Linked DNA regions of Homo sapiens: all the other regions are linked to region 1. Evidence: promoter capture Hi-C in 16 types of primary human blood cells and fetal thymus (Javierre and others, 2016). All regions are on one chromosome and are shown on one strand. The core of a region is centred on a gene start or on the middle of the fragment in contact, and the rest is flanking DNA. Distances in the headings are between cores, read along the strand shown.

What was found. Contacts are between HindIII fragments. The CHiCAGO score rates a contact against its expected background, and 5 or more counts as called.
Region 2: a fragment that was not itself captured here is called in contact with the fragment with the promoter of GLI2 in region 1 in 5 of 17 cell types (erythroblasts, endothelial precursors, megakaryocytes and 2 more); the score reaches 10.9 in erythroblasts.
Region 3: a contact is called between a fragment that was not itself captured here and the fragment with the promoter of GLI2 in region 1, in 1 of 17 cell types (erythroblasts). The highest score is 5.5, in erythroblasts.

What each region holds. Positions count from the first base shown.
Region 1 is chr2:120,733,469-120,737,149 of GRCh38, reverse strand. It overlaps GLI2 (GLI family zinc finger 2), which reads right to left and starts at 1,282. Exons shown (of 14, transcript NM_001374353.1): 1 at 865-1,282. It overlaps LOC124906073 (a long non-coding RNA gene), which reads right to left. Exons shown (of 3, transcript XR_007087219.1): 3 at 2,300-3,108. LOC124907881 (a long non-coding RNA gene) reads left to right here. Exons shown (of 2, transcript XR_007087221.1): 1 at 1-589; 2 at 3,562-3,681. RefSeq lists enhancers at 1-78, 1,197-1,366, 2,006-2,653. The HindIII fragment of the contact is 6,148 bases long and covers 1-3,681 here.
Region 2 is chr2:121,055,959-121,059,477 of GRCh38, reverse strand. It overlaps LOC105373587 (a long non-coding RNA gene), which reads right to left. Exons shown (of 4, transcript XR_923267.2): 3 at 2,893-3,091; 4 at 1,694-2,374. Among named protein-coding and RNA genes, the nearest start is that of TFCP2L1, 230 kb to the left of the region's middle. The HindIII fragment of the contact is 5,028 bases long and covers 1-3,519 here.
Region 3 is chr2:121,092,493-121,096,133 of GRCh38, reverse strand. No RefSeq gene overlaps it. Among named protein-coding and RNA genes, the nearest start is that of TFCP2L1, 190 kb to the left of the region's middle. The HindIII fragment of the contact is 5,076 bases long and covers 1-3,641 here.

The DNA.
Region 1 (3,681 bases), core at 33-2,532:
TAGGATTGGCGCCCAACTCTCTCCGCGCCTCTCCCCATCCATCACATACAGATCAAGTTGCAGTAGTGGATTTTTCAAATTCCTCAGCAAATATACTTGTTGAGAGATTGTCGGGGGTGGGGAGAGACGATGAGTAGGGGGGCAGGGATGAAAGTGAGGTGGAAGGGGGAACCGGAGGACCCGGCAAAGGATTACGTGCGGATCCCTTTGGGAAGTCAAGCGGATCTCAGGGCCGAGGGCAGGAGAGGAGGAGAAGAGAGGCAAAGAGGGGGGGCCGAGGAGGAGAGCCCAGCAGAGGGGGAGGGGGCGGCCGGGCCGGGCGAGGGGGAGGAAGGATTGAGGAAGGAAGAAAGAAAGGCAGGGCTCCGGGACGCGCAGCGCGGAGAAGTGGAGTTCGAAGTTCTCAAGTGGCTGGCTGCAGCCCCTCCGCGCTCAGTACGCCCGCAGACACGCTCCCATGCCCACCTACGGCAGCTTCGGAGCATCCCAGCCTCCGATCCCACCCTCCACCCCCTGAAAAAACAGACCCCCGCCGGCGCGCGGAGGCCGGCTCGCTGTGCACCCCGAGAAGAGTGGTGCTCTCCCCCAGGTAGGGAGAGGGTGCAACATCGACCTCTGGCCACGAGCTCCAAGCCCCAGGACTCTCCTTACGTCCCCGCCCTGCTCGTCCAGAGCCCCAGGCGGGGTCGCGCCTACTAGCCTCTAGTCCCCCGAAGCCCAGGGCCCCGATCCCAAGGCCTAGGCGCCGGTACCCGGCCGAGGGACCCCCCGAGACGGCGCAGCATCCCAGTCGGCCCGCGCTTGGCCGAGGTGGGAGGCGCTTCGTCACGAAAAGCAAGCAAAAGAAGGCCAATGCAACTTTACCGAGAGAGACAAAAGTTTGCCTCTAGCACGCAGGTGGCCTCTCGGGCGCCGGGCGGTGGCTGTGGGCCCCCATCCCACCTTGGCTGGCGCGGCGACCCTCGGCTGGCTGCCTTGTGCCGGGGCTCCAGCCAGCCGGGGCGGGGCGGGCCAGGCAAGAGAGGGGACCGAGAGGCGGGCGGGCGCCGCGCAGCCCCTACCGCCGGCGAGCAGGCGGCTCCCCGAGGCTGCGGCGCGCCGCGCGGCCCAAGCTCTTTCCTCCGGCTCCTCCTGCGGCTCCTGGCCTTCCTCCGCGTTCGCAGTCGCAGCCGCCGCCGCCGCCCGCTCCTCCTCGAAGTCTCATTGATGGGAGTTTGAAAAAAAGTCCGCGGAGCCGTGCTGCCTCGGCTGGCAAGCGCCGGCACTTCTGCAATCCATCAGCGCCGCCGGACTGCGCAGCGCCCCCGCGCGCACGGTGCGGGCACACCCGGGCCCCAAGAACCCGCCAGCCAGCCCGCCCGCTCCCTGCCGGGGGACGCAGGGGGACCCGAACGCCGCCGGGGCGGGGGGAGGGGAAAGGGGGAGCACAGGGACTCTCCCCACCCAGCACCAAGGAAAGAAAACGCACCTACAAGGAAAGTTCGAGAAAGGAACCAAAGGACGCGCCAATCTCCGACACTTTTTTTAGACGACTAGGTGTGGGGGGGGGGGTTGGGGGTGTCGCTAACTCAAGTCAGATGAGCTCCGGAGCTGAGGGGCAAGGGCTGCTCTGTTTTCAATCTCTGAAATCCCCCCGCCCTCCCCACCTCCCACTTCCCTCCTCGGGGAGATGCCTGGGTCGCTGTTCCCAGGGCGCCCGCTTCTCTGGACGCCCGCGCGGAAGCCGGGGACGCCAGAGAAGGGACGCGGGGGCTGGGTCCACGCGGACCCTCTTCCCGCGGGCAGCGAGCGCAGGTGCCGGGGGTCCTGAGGCGTCCCCCGCCGCCGCTAGCCCTCGTCGCCATCTGAGCACACGCTGGCGAGAAACGAAGCAGCCTTCTAGGTTTGGTGCATGTGGCTTGCAGGGTGGGTTTTTGTTTTGTTGTGTTGTGTGTTTTAGAGACTCCACTCGAGCCGCTGAAGCCAGATGGAAGTAATCAGAACCCAACAACAACAGAGAAAGAAGGAAGAAAAAACTCCTCATTGAATTTTCTAGCCAAAGTGTATATGGGGCTGTGTGTGAAAGAACTTGCTTAAGCAAGCTCAGTGAGGAGCCCTGGGCCCTCAAGCCACACCACAGCCCGGAACTGGGCCGCCAGGCTTGGAGGAGAATTGGGGGCAGCTGGCTAAAGTGTCCTCCCCACACCCCCGGGCCTGCCACCCTCTCCAGGGCCCCTGGGCCTCACCCGAAGAGGGTCTTGGGGGGAATTTCTGGTTTTATTCTTCCTAACGTTTGTAGAACACTCTACCAAGTGCCAGGTGATGTTATATTTTCTTTGTATTATTGGACTTTCACAGCTCTGTAAGGAAGGTTCTCTTCTCGTGTTTTTACAGGTGGGAAGTCTGATGCTTTAAAAAGTTAAGTAACTAGTCTAAGGTCAGAGCACTCTGCCATCCTCCCAGAGCTTCGGGTGGTTGTACTGTAAGTTCAGTTAAATTTGCCCTGTTGGGCCGGGCGCGGTGGCTCACGCTTGTAATCCTAGCACTTTGGGAGGCCGAGGCACGGGGATCACCTGAGGTCAGGAGTTCAAGACCAGCCTGGCCAACATGGTGAAACCCCGTCTCTACTAAAAATACAAAAAATTAGCCAGGGATAGTAGCGCGCGCCTGTAATCCCGGCTACTTGGGAGACTGAGGCTGGAGAATCTCTCAAACCCCTTGGGAGATGGAGGTTGCAGTGAGCCATGATGGCGCCACTGCACTCCAGCCTGGGTGATGGAGCGAGACTCTGTCTCAAAAAAATAAATTAATTAAATTAAATTTTTAAAAAATTGCCCTGTTGAGGTGGGTGGAAGTGTCTCTCCCTTCAGCCCCTGTTCCTAAAATTGCATTTTATTTGAAATGCAAGGGACCCAATGCTACCCTCCCTGAGGGGATGTGACCTACACAGGCCCATTTCACCGGTGCAACCCTTTTTGTGGGTGGCTCTCTCCATATACCTTTTATCCTCTGCTAACTTTATTCTTTTACTTTTTAATCAAAGAGGATGCATTAGAACTTCATTCCTTAAGATCCTCCTTCCTCCTCCTGACATTCACTTATATGATGGAGCAACAATTTCTTCTTGACCTAGAGAAAAAAATATGCAGAAAAATATTAGAACAATTTGATGCTAATTTTGTTTGGGGGGAAAAGGTCGGCAGCATTTTTAAAAAGCGAAACTTGCATAAGCCAATGATTTAAAGAGAAGTTTGAAAGGGGCTTTTTCTTTAAAGATGATCAGATTCACCATTCCTCCGTGCTATTTGTTTAAATTCCTGCTGAGCTTTCAGAACACAGACTCTAAGGAGACAGAAAAAGTAAACTCTCCCTCCCCTCCTTGGCCATATTTTAATGACCCTATTCATATCTGCCCCATGACATGTAGGGAATCATTTCTCATTGCTGGAATATTAGCCGCGTTGGCTGATTACTTCATTATGAGCTTGTCTCTGTTGATTTCCTTGTGTTGTAAAGTTTGTGAAGAAGTTTAAACAAATCAATGTTTTAGGATATTTCCTTCTTCTCTGTTTTTCTTCTCAGACCAGCTCAACTCCTGCTGGACTCCAGGCACTCACATAACCTTTCCCGGCTTATTTTGGCAAGAAGATGGCTGTCGAGATGAAGACAGAATGTTTTTTGGTTGGAGGAGAACTCTGTAGA
Region 2 (3,519 bases), core at 75-2,574, 320 kb before region 1:
TACTGCCCGGCCACTTCCAGCCGCCCAGCCTAGGTTCCTTCCACACAAGATGAAAACAGTCTGGTCTGGAGGCCACCAATGGCATCACTCCCAGCTGCAGCCACCTCTGCCCCAGGAGCCCAGGTGGGTGAAGGGCAGGTGGTGACTTGAAGGGGAAATTGTCCTGCACGTTGTCCTCAGAACCTCGAGGAAGCTGGTGACACACCAGAGTGTGGACATTAATGTAATCGTTGGGTAATTCAATCACTTTATAGAAGTTGATCTGTCCTTTTTATTACAATTACTGTCGGCTGGGGTGTTTCGTTCCATCACTGAAAATAAACATCATTTATCATACTTGTAAAGATTAGCACCCGACAGCTACAGCTCTTGCTTTGCATAAATGTGTATTAATGTTGGCCCTGCCCGCAGTGTGGGGAGAAGTCTATATTTCACAAGACTGATTAGGCCCTGTCACCACTGCTTTAAGTAATGTCTTATCATGACTGATACTCCCCGACTGCAAAACAGGGGCCGGGGGAGGGCGGGGGCTGCTCCAGGCAATTTATGGTGGCACCAGAATGAAAAACAGGCCTGGGAAGGTGGGCATCTGTTTCTTCTGGGCCTGATCCCATCCCCGAAGCTGGGTCTGCGCCTCCTCCCAAGGCCCCTGCCTAACAAGCAAAGGCTGCCCATAGGGGTGTCGGGGCCCAAGAGTTCCACGACCATGGAGGGGCCTCATTCCAGCCTTGCATGTCCTCCTCTGACACCACTGAGGTTCTGTCTCTCCTTTCCTCTGCTGCGGGGAGGCGCGTCTGCCAGGCAGTTATCTGTCAGGAGCCCCTGTTGCGTCGACTGCCCTCCGCTCTGCCATGCCCGCTGTTGGCACCCAGATCGGTCCCAGCCCGGGCCTCTCTCCTGTGCTCAGCCTGGTACCCACAACCTCCTACCTTGCCCATTTGCCCTCCACATACACTCCGGGACTCCATGCCACCATAGGACAGTGACCAAGCTCCTCAGGAGCCAAACAGAATCAGGGTTTTGGGCCCTCCAGGGGCTGCCTCCTGCCACCCTCATCCTGCTGCCAGACCCTCCCTGGCCTCAGCCATACCGGGCTCCTCCACTCTCCTTCGTGCTGCTTAAGCCCACCCTGTGGTTTCACATGTGCGTGCTTCTGGACCCGAGCAGACACCTTCTCCCTGCACCCACCTAAGGAAGCCAGCACCCACCCAGGGTCATGGCTTGGCTCCGGGCCTCCTGTTCCCCACCCCTCCTTGGCCGGGAGAGTCAGTCCCTGTAAGTATTCCAACCAGGAACTTAGGCAGAAATCCTCTTAGTCATCCCCAGGTCCCAGCACCCTGTACAGTGATTGGCACAGGGTGGGTGCTGAATAAATCGTGGCTTCAAACAAAACAAAACAAAACAGTATAAATGATTAAGAACTCATTTTGCTGAAGAGATTCTTTTTTTTTTTTTTTTTTTTTTTGAGATGGAGTCTCCCTCTGTCATCAGGCTGGAGTGCAGTGGCGCAATCTCGGTTCACTGCAACCTCTGCCTCCCGGTTTCAAGCAATTCTCTGCCTCAGCCTCCCAAGTAACTGGGATTACAGGCACCCACCATCACGCCCAGCTCATTTTTGTATTTTTATTAGAGACAGGGTTTCTCCATGTTGGCCAGGCTGGTCTCGAACTCCTGACCTCGTGATCCTCCTGTCTCGGCCTCCCAAAGTGCTGGGATTACAGGTGTGAGCCATCACACCCAACCTCTTCCATCTTTTTAAGAAGGCTGACCTAGATCCCGTAGAGCTAGCCAGAGCTACCCAGTAAGGTAGCCACGAGCCACAAGTGATGATTTACACTTAAATTAACTACAACTAAATGCAATTAAAAGTTCAGTTCCCCAGCCCACTAACAACATTTCTAATGTTCAATAACTCCTGTATTAGACAGCACAGACATAAAGCACTTCCATGGTCCTGGAACATCCTGTGGGTCGGCGCTGTCGGACAGTGTTCCGGGGTGCCTGGAAGGAGTGGGCCGCAGTGTGGTGGGGCTGGAGAAGGGACCCTGGTGGCATATTCCACCTGAGGATGTCAGCAGGCAGATTCAGGTCACTCATGGAGCATGCTCTGAAAGATGTGGGAGGCTGGCCTCAAAGCCAAGTGTCACCTCGAGATTTTGGTGCCCAGATAGGTGCTGGTGTGAATGCCAAGGTTGTTTTGGAGTGACACTGCTGTTACTGTCATGAGCTGACAAAAAAGATAGGATGAAATGACAAAGCCTGGCTGGCGTGTCCAGCAAGGAGAGGCGTGTGCCACGTGAAAGCCGAACACAACGTGGAGCAGGATTTCAGACAGAAACTGTGGAGGAAGGACTGACTTCAGAGGGTCCACGCTCTGCAAGACAGAACATAGGCACAGAACACTGACATTTTCATTGATTTTACGGTTGTACTTGATTACATTTGTAAACTCATCTGGGCTATATAATTCCGTAAGAAAAAATTTATGTCTTGTTTGGTGCTCCCCTATTTTAAAAACATAATAACTGCAATGTAAGATACTTGAATGTTTTTCCTTTAAGGTGTCCATTGCTGAGCAGGCAGAGATTCTTGTCTGTGCTGTCCACCTGCACCCCAGCACCTACTGCAGTGTGTGGTGCATAGTAGATGCTCATTAAATACCTGAGAAATGAGTGTACAGAATCATGAGAGGACAGTTACGTGGATGGTGAATGAAAATCTTGGAAGCACAAAGTAGACATCAAATGGATATTTGCTAGGTGAATAAATCACTGAATGAATGGGCAAATTTATGAACAAATGAATGAATGAATGGCTGTCAGGCAATGGGAGCACAGTTGAGGTAGGTGGGAGCAGGGCTCAGTCAGGCATCTGGCTGCCTCTGGATCTCACCTGGACCTGGAGACCTTGTAGAGTCTGCGGCTGCCTCAGTGTTCCCAACCCCTGCCGGACCTTGCCGTCCCTTTGTGCCATCCTCTCTCCATCCCCACTGGCCTCCTGCTGGCTCCTGCTGGCTCCCGTGGGCTGTTAGGAAGAGTCTGGGCCTGTTCTCCATACTTACGCCACCTTATAGGACAGAGCAGCTGCTCCCCTGCCAGACAGTAGCAAGGGCCTTTACTGAGATGTAATTCACACACCAAGCAATTCATCCCTTTAAAATGTACAACTCCATGGTTTTTAGTGTACGCACAGCTACGTGCAACTATCACCACAGCAAATTTGAGAAGGTTTTCTTCGTTTCAAAAAGAACCCCTATACCCTTTAACTATCGCCTCTATGGAGCCTTTCTCCCCCAACCCCCTGCCTCTGACAACCACTAACCTACTTTCCATCTCTCTAGCTTCCCCTGGCATGGATACTCATGTGAGCAGGGCATATGGCATGCACCCTTTTGTGAGTGGCTTCCTTCAGTCAGCACCATGTTTTCAAGGTTCATCACATGTAACATGTTGGTTCCTTTTTATGGCTGAACATTGTATGGATAAAACACATTTTACTTCTCCATTTGTCTGTTGGTGG
Region 3 (3,641 bases), core at 545-3,044, 360 kb before region 1:
AGAGGACTTCAAATAGGATGGGAGGACTCTGGAATGGGATGCATGCAGCCTTGCCCCTCTGAATTTCAAGCTCACCTCTGCAGAGTACAGTGGCTGGGGATCAGCCCCCCGGGAGTGCTCACAGCCATTCAACAGGTCTGAGAAGCAAGGCTTAGAGAGTGAAGGGCTCTGTCACCCGGCCTCAGACTGGTTCCCCAGGCTGAGCTGGACCCACGCCACCTCTCCACTCAATGAGCATGCCACTGTGCCCAGACAGAGCTCAGGGGCTACACCTGCACTCCAGGGTCTCTGACACATGAAGCTGTCTGCCCCCTCCAGCCCCCGCATCGAGCATTGACCTTCACGGGGGGCAGCCCCAGGAAGGTTAGGGACACTTCCAGACGTCTCATTTCATCCTCAAATGTCCCCTCACCCTTAGTCAGGCAGGACAAGCCTTGAAGGTGCCCCATCTTCCAGGCAGCCCTCCCAGTCCAGCAGCCTGGCTTCTGGGGCCACCACCAGGGTCGGACTTACAAAGGCTTGGGCAGTGCATCCCACATCCCACTGTCCCTGCTGTCTGCAGCCTGCCTCTCCACACTGAGCACTGAGGCTACCAGAAAAAGAAGCCATTTGAACTCCAGGAGCTCCTGGGAAATCCAGCAGAGATGCGCATTTTCGTCCGTGCACTGCCGCCTGCTGGCCAGCAGGTGTTGAATTGTGGAGAGGCTGGAGGGAGGACGGACGGTCGAGGCTGTGGAAGGTTCACCTTCCAGCTCCGCCTCTCCTACGCTCGGGACTAGGGCCCAGTCCCTGGGGGTGTGACTGACCTACCACATTTCCCCTCTGCTCCTCCTGTCAAATCCATCTCGCATGCTGTGACTTTGTTTTTGAAAAGACTGTTAAAATAACTCACATGGAGGTGTTGTGACTGATGATGACTTTAATTTTATCCTTTACCCAGCCCCTCTGAGAAAAAAACAATTTGGAATCTAATTAGGATGATGTTTACCTCCAGATAAATGACTCTGTAATTGTGGAGTTTCAGGCTGTGCACTGAAACTGTGTTTTGGACAGGCAGGGCTCTTCCTAAGCATCCCGGGATCTCTGACTTGCCCTGAGTATAGAGGTGAGTCAGTGGGGCACATATCGTACCTGTCACCGCAGGATGTCATAACAGAATAGAATATTAGAGTTGGCAGTGGCCTTAGAGATCCAGCTATTGCACAGATGAATCCAAGAGGGGGAAAGGCTTTGCCCACAGGGAACAAACTGGAAACAGAATCTCTTCCCAAAAGGCTTAGGGTGAGGAAAATTCCTGGCTGATGGACGTTCTGAGAATTTTTTTTTTTTTTTTAGACGGAGTCTTGCTCTGTCGCCCAGGCTGGAGTGCAGTGGTGCGATCTCGGCTCACTGCAACCTCTACCTCCCGGGTTCAAGCGATTCTCCTGTCTCAGCCTCCTGAGTAGCTGAGATTATAGGCACGCGCCACCACCCCCTGCTTATTTTTGTATTTTTAGTAGAGACGGGGTTTCACCATGTTGGTCAGGCTTGTCTCAAACTCCTGACCTCGTGATCCGCCCAACTTGGCCTCTGAAAGTGCTGAGATTACAGGTGTGAGCCACTGTGCCTGGCCCATTCTGAGAATTTTAAGGGGAAGCATGATATTGAAATCCCAGAGAACAGCCTTGTGCCCCCCACCCCAACCCCATTATCCCCTATTCCCTCTCAAGGATACGGGCTGGGCAGAGGGAGGCATCATTTGGGCAGAGGGAGCACTCTTGCCTCCTCCAGCTCAGTGTCTGTTCTTCCATCCATATCTGCCTGCGGGACATGATCCAGCTCACGGCTCTTCTCCAGAAGGGCAGGAGAGGAATTCTGACTCATTTCCCATCTCTTTATCTTTCTGAGCTACATTTATGGATGATTCTCTCAACTTTTTTTTTTCAATTTATGAATTCCTTTGCAAATGTGCCTAATCTGATGTTTATGCCATTTTTTACTTTAAAAAAGTTTAATAATTATATATTTCATTTTGAGATGTATTTGGTGTCAAATCTGTTAGGTCATCTTGGATACTTTTATGTTCCCTGCATGTGTGTTTAATTTCCCCTTTTACTCCCATAAACATTGAAAACATGACTTTGAATCCTGTTCCTGATAATCCCATAATGTGACATCTTTGGTGGTCTAATTCTGACATCTGCTGCTCCTGCTGACACTTGCTCATGATGGATTGTTTCTCTTGTGCAGGCTCAATTTTTATGGTGAACTCATGTTTTGCAGATCTCAGTCTGTGGGAATCCTGACAGGCCTAGGCTGAGGGTTAGTCCTCTGGAGAGATCTGTCAGGAGGCCTGGAGTGCTTGTTTCCATCTTGGAAACATATTAAAATATTTCTCAGCTTGGATATTCTTCAGGGAGTGTAAATCCAGACCCGAAATCCACGTGAGGATGGCCTTTACATTTTCAGGGGGAAGGAAGAGTGAAATATCTCTCTTCTTTTTCCTCTTCCTTCTCTTCCCCCTTCTCCTCCTCCTCCTCCTTCTCTCTTTCTCTTTTTTTAACCCAAAGCTGAAGCCAGGATAGACACACTTTCTTGTTAGCTTCTTTTTCTATGTCACCTTTTTACCAAGAGTTAGCTCTTCAAGGATTCTAGCTTTTCCAAGAGTCTAAGTCCTGACACTCCATCTTGCCTGCATGGGCCCAGGGCCCTGCCTTCTCTCTTTTGTATGGCTGTTAAAACCAGTGACTATAGGTTTCAGATATTTCCAGGTGCTTCTAGGGCAGCCCACAGCATCAGGGGTCATTTCTCATTCTGGTTTCAGCCTCTTCTTCGGTTTTGGCCTTTGTGAGTTTCCTTACTTTCTTATACAATCAGGTAGTCATTTAAAAGATGTTTGTTTAGTTTCAATCAACAGGTCTAGGTATTTGTAGTGGAGTTTATTTTTTCCCCAGAACATCTAGCCTAGAAGTGGAAGTCCTAATTTTATATTTAAATATTCAGATGTTTGCCACATGTGAAGAGTTTAACCAACTGTGAAGTTGGAGGGAACACAGCCCACACAGAAAACCGTGCTCACTTCCAACACCAATTACAAGTTTTAGGGGTTCCCAAGACCACCTCTTCTGATACCAATTGCAAAGTTGGAAAGACTAGTTCCCCCAACCACTCTCAGTTTTGATAACTTGCTAGAAAGACTCACAGAGCTAACTGGAAGCTGTTAGACTCATCCTTTTTTTTTTTTTTTTTGAGATGGAGTCTCGCTCTGTCACCCAGGCTAGAGTGCAGTGGTGCGATCTCGGCTCACTGTAACCTCTCTGCCTCCTGGGTTCAAGTGATTCTTCTGCCTCAGCCTCCCAAGTAGCTGGGACTACAGGTGCATGCCACCACACCCAGCTAATTTTTGTATTTTTAGTAGAGACAGGGTTTCACCATATTGGCCAGGCTGGTCTCGAACTCCTGACCTCACGATCCACCCACCTCAGCTTCCCAAAGTGCTGGGATTACAGGTGTGAGCCGCCACACCCAGCAAGACTCATCTTATACTTCTGGGTGCAGATGAGCATCAGCCAAGGGAGGATGCCCACAGGGGGTGTCTGGGGACTACCCCATGCACAGCTGCTGTGGTCCTCCCTGTTGGGTCAGCCTCCTGTTCCCAGCAT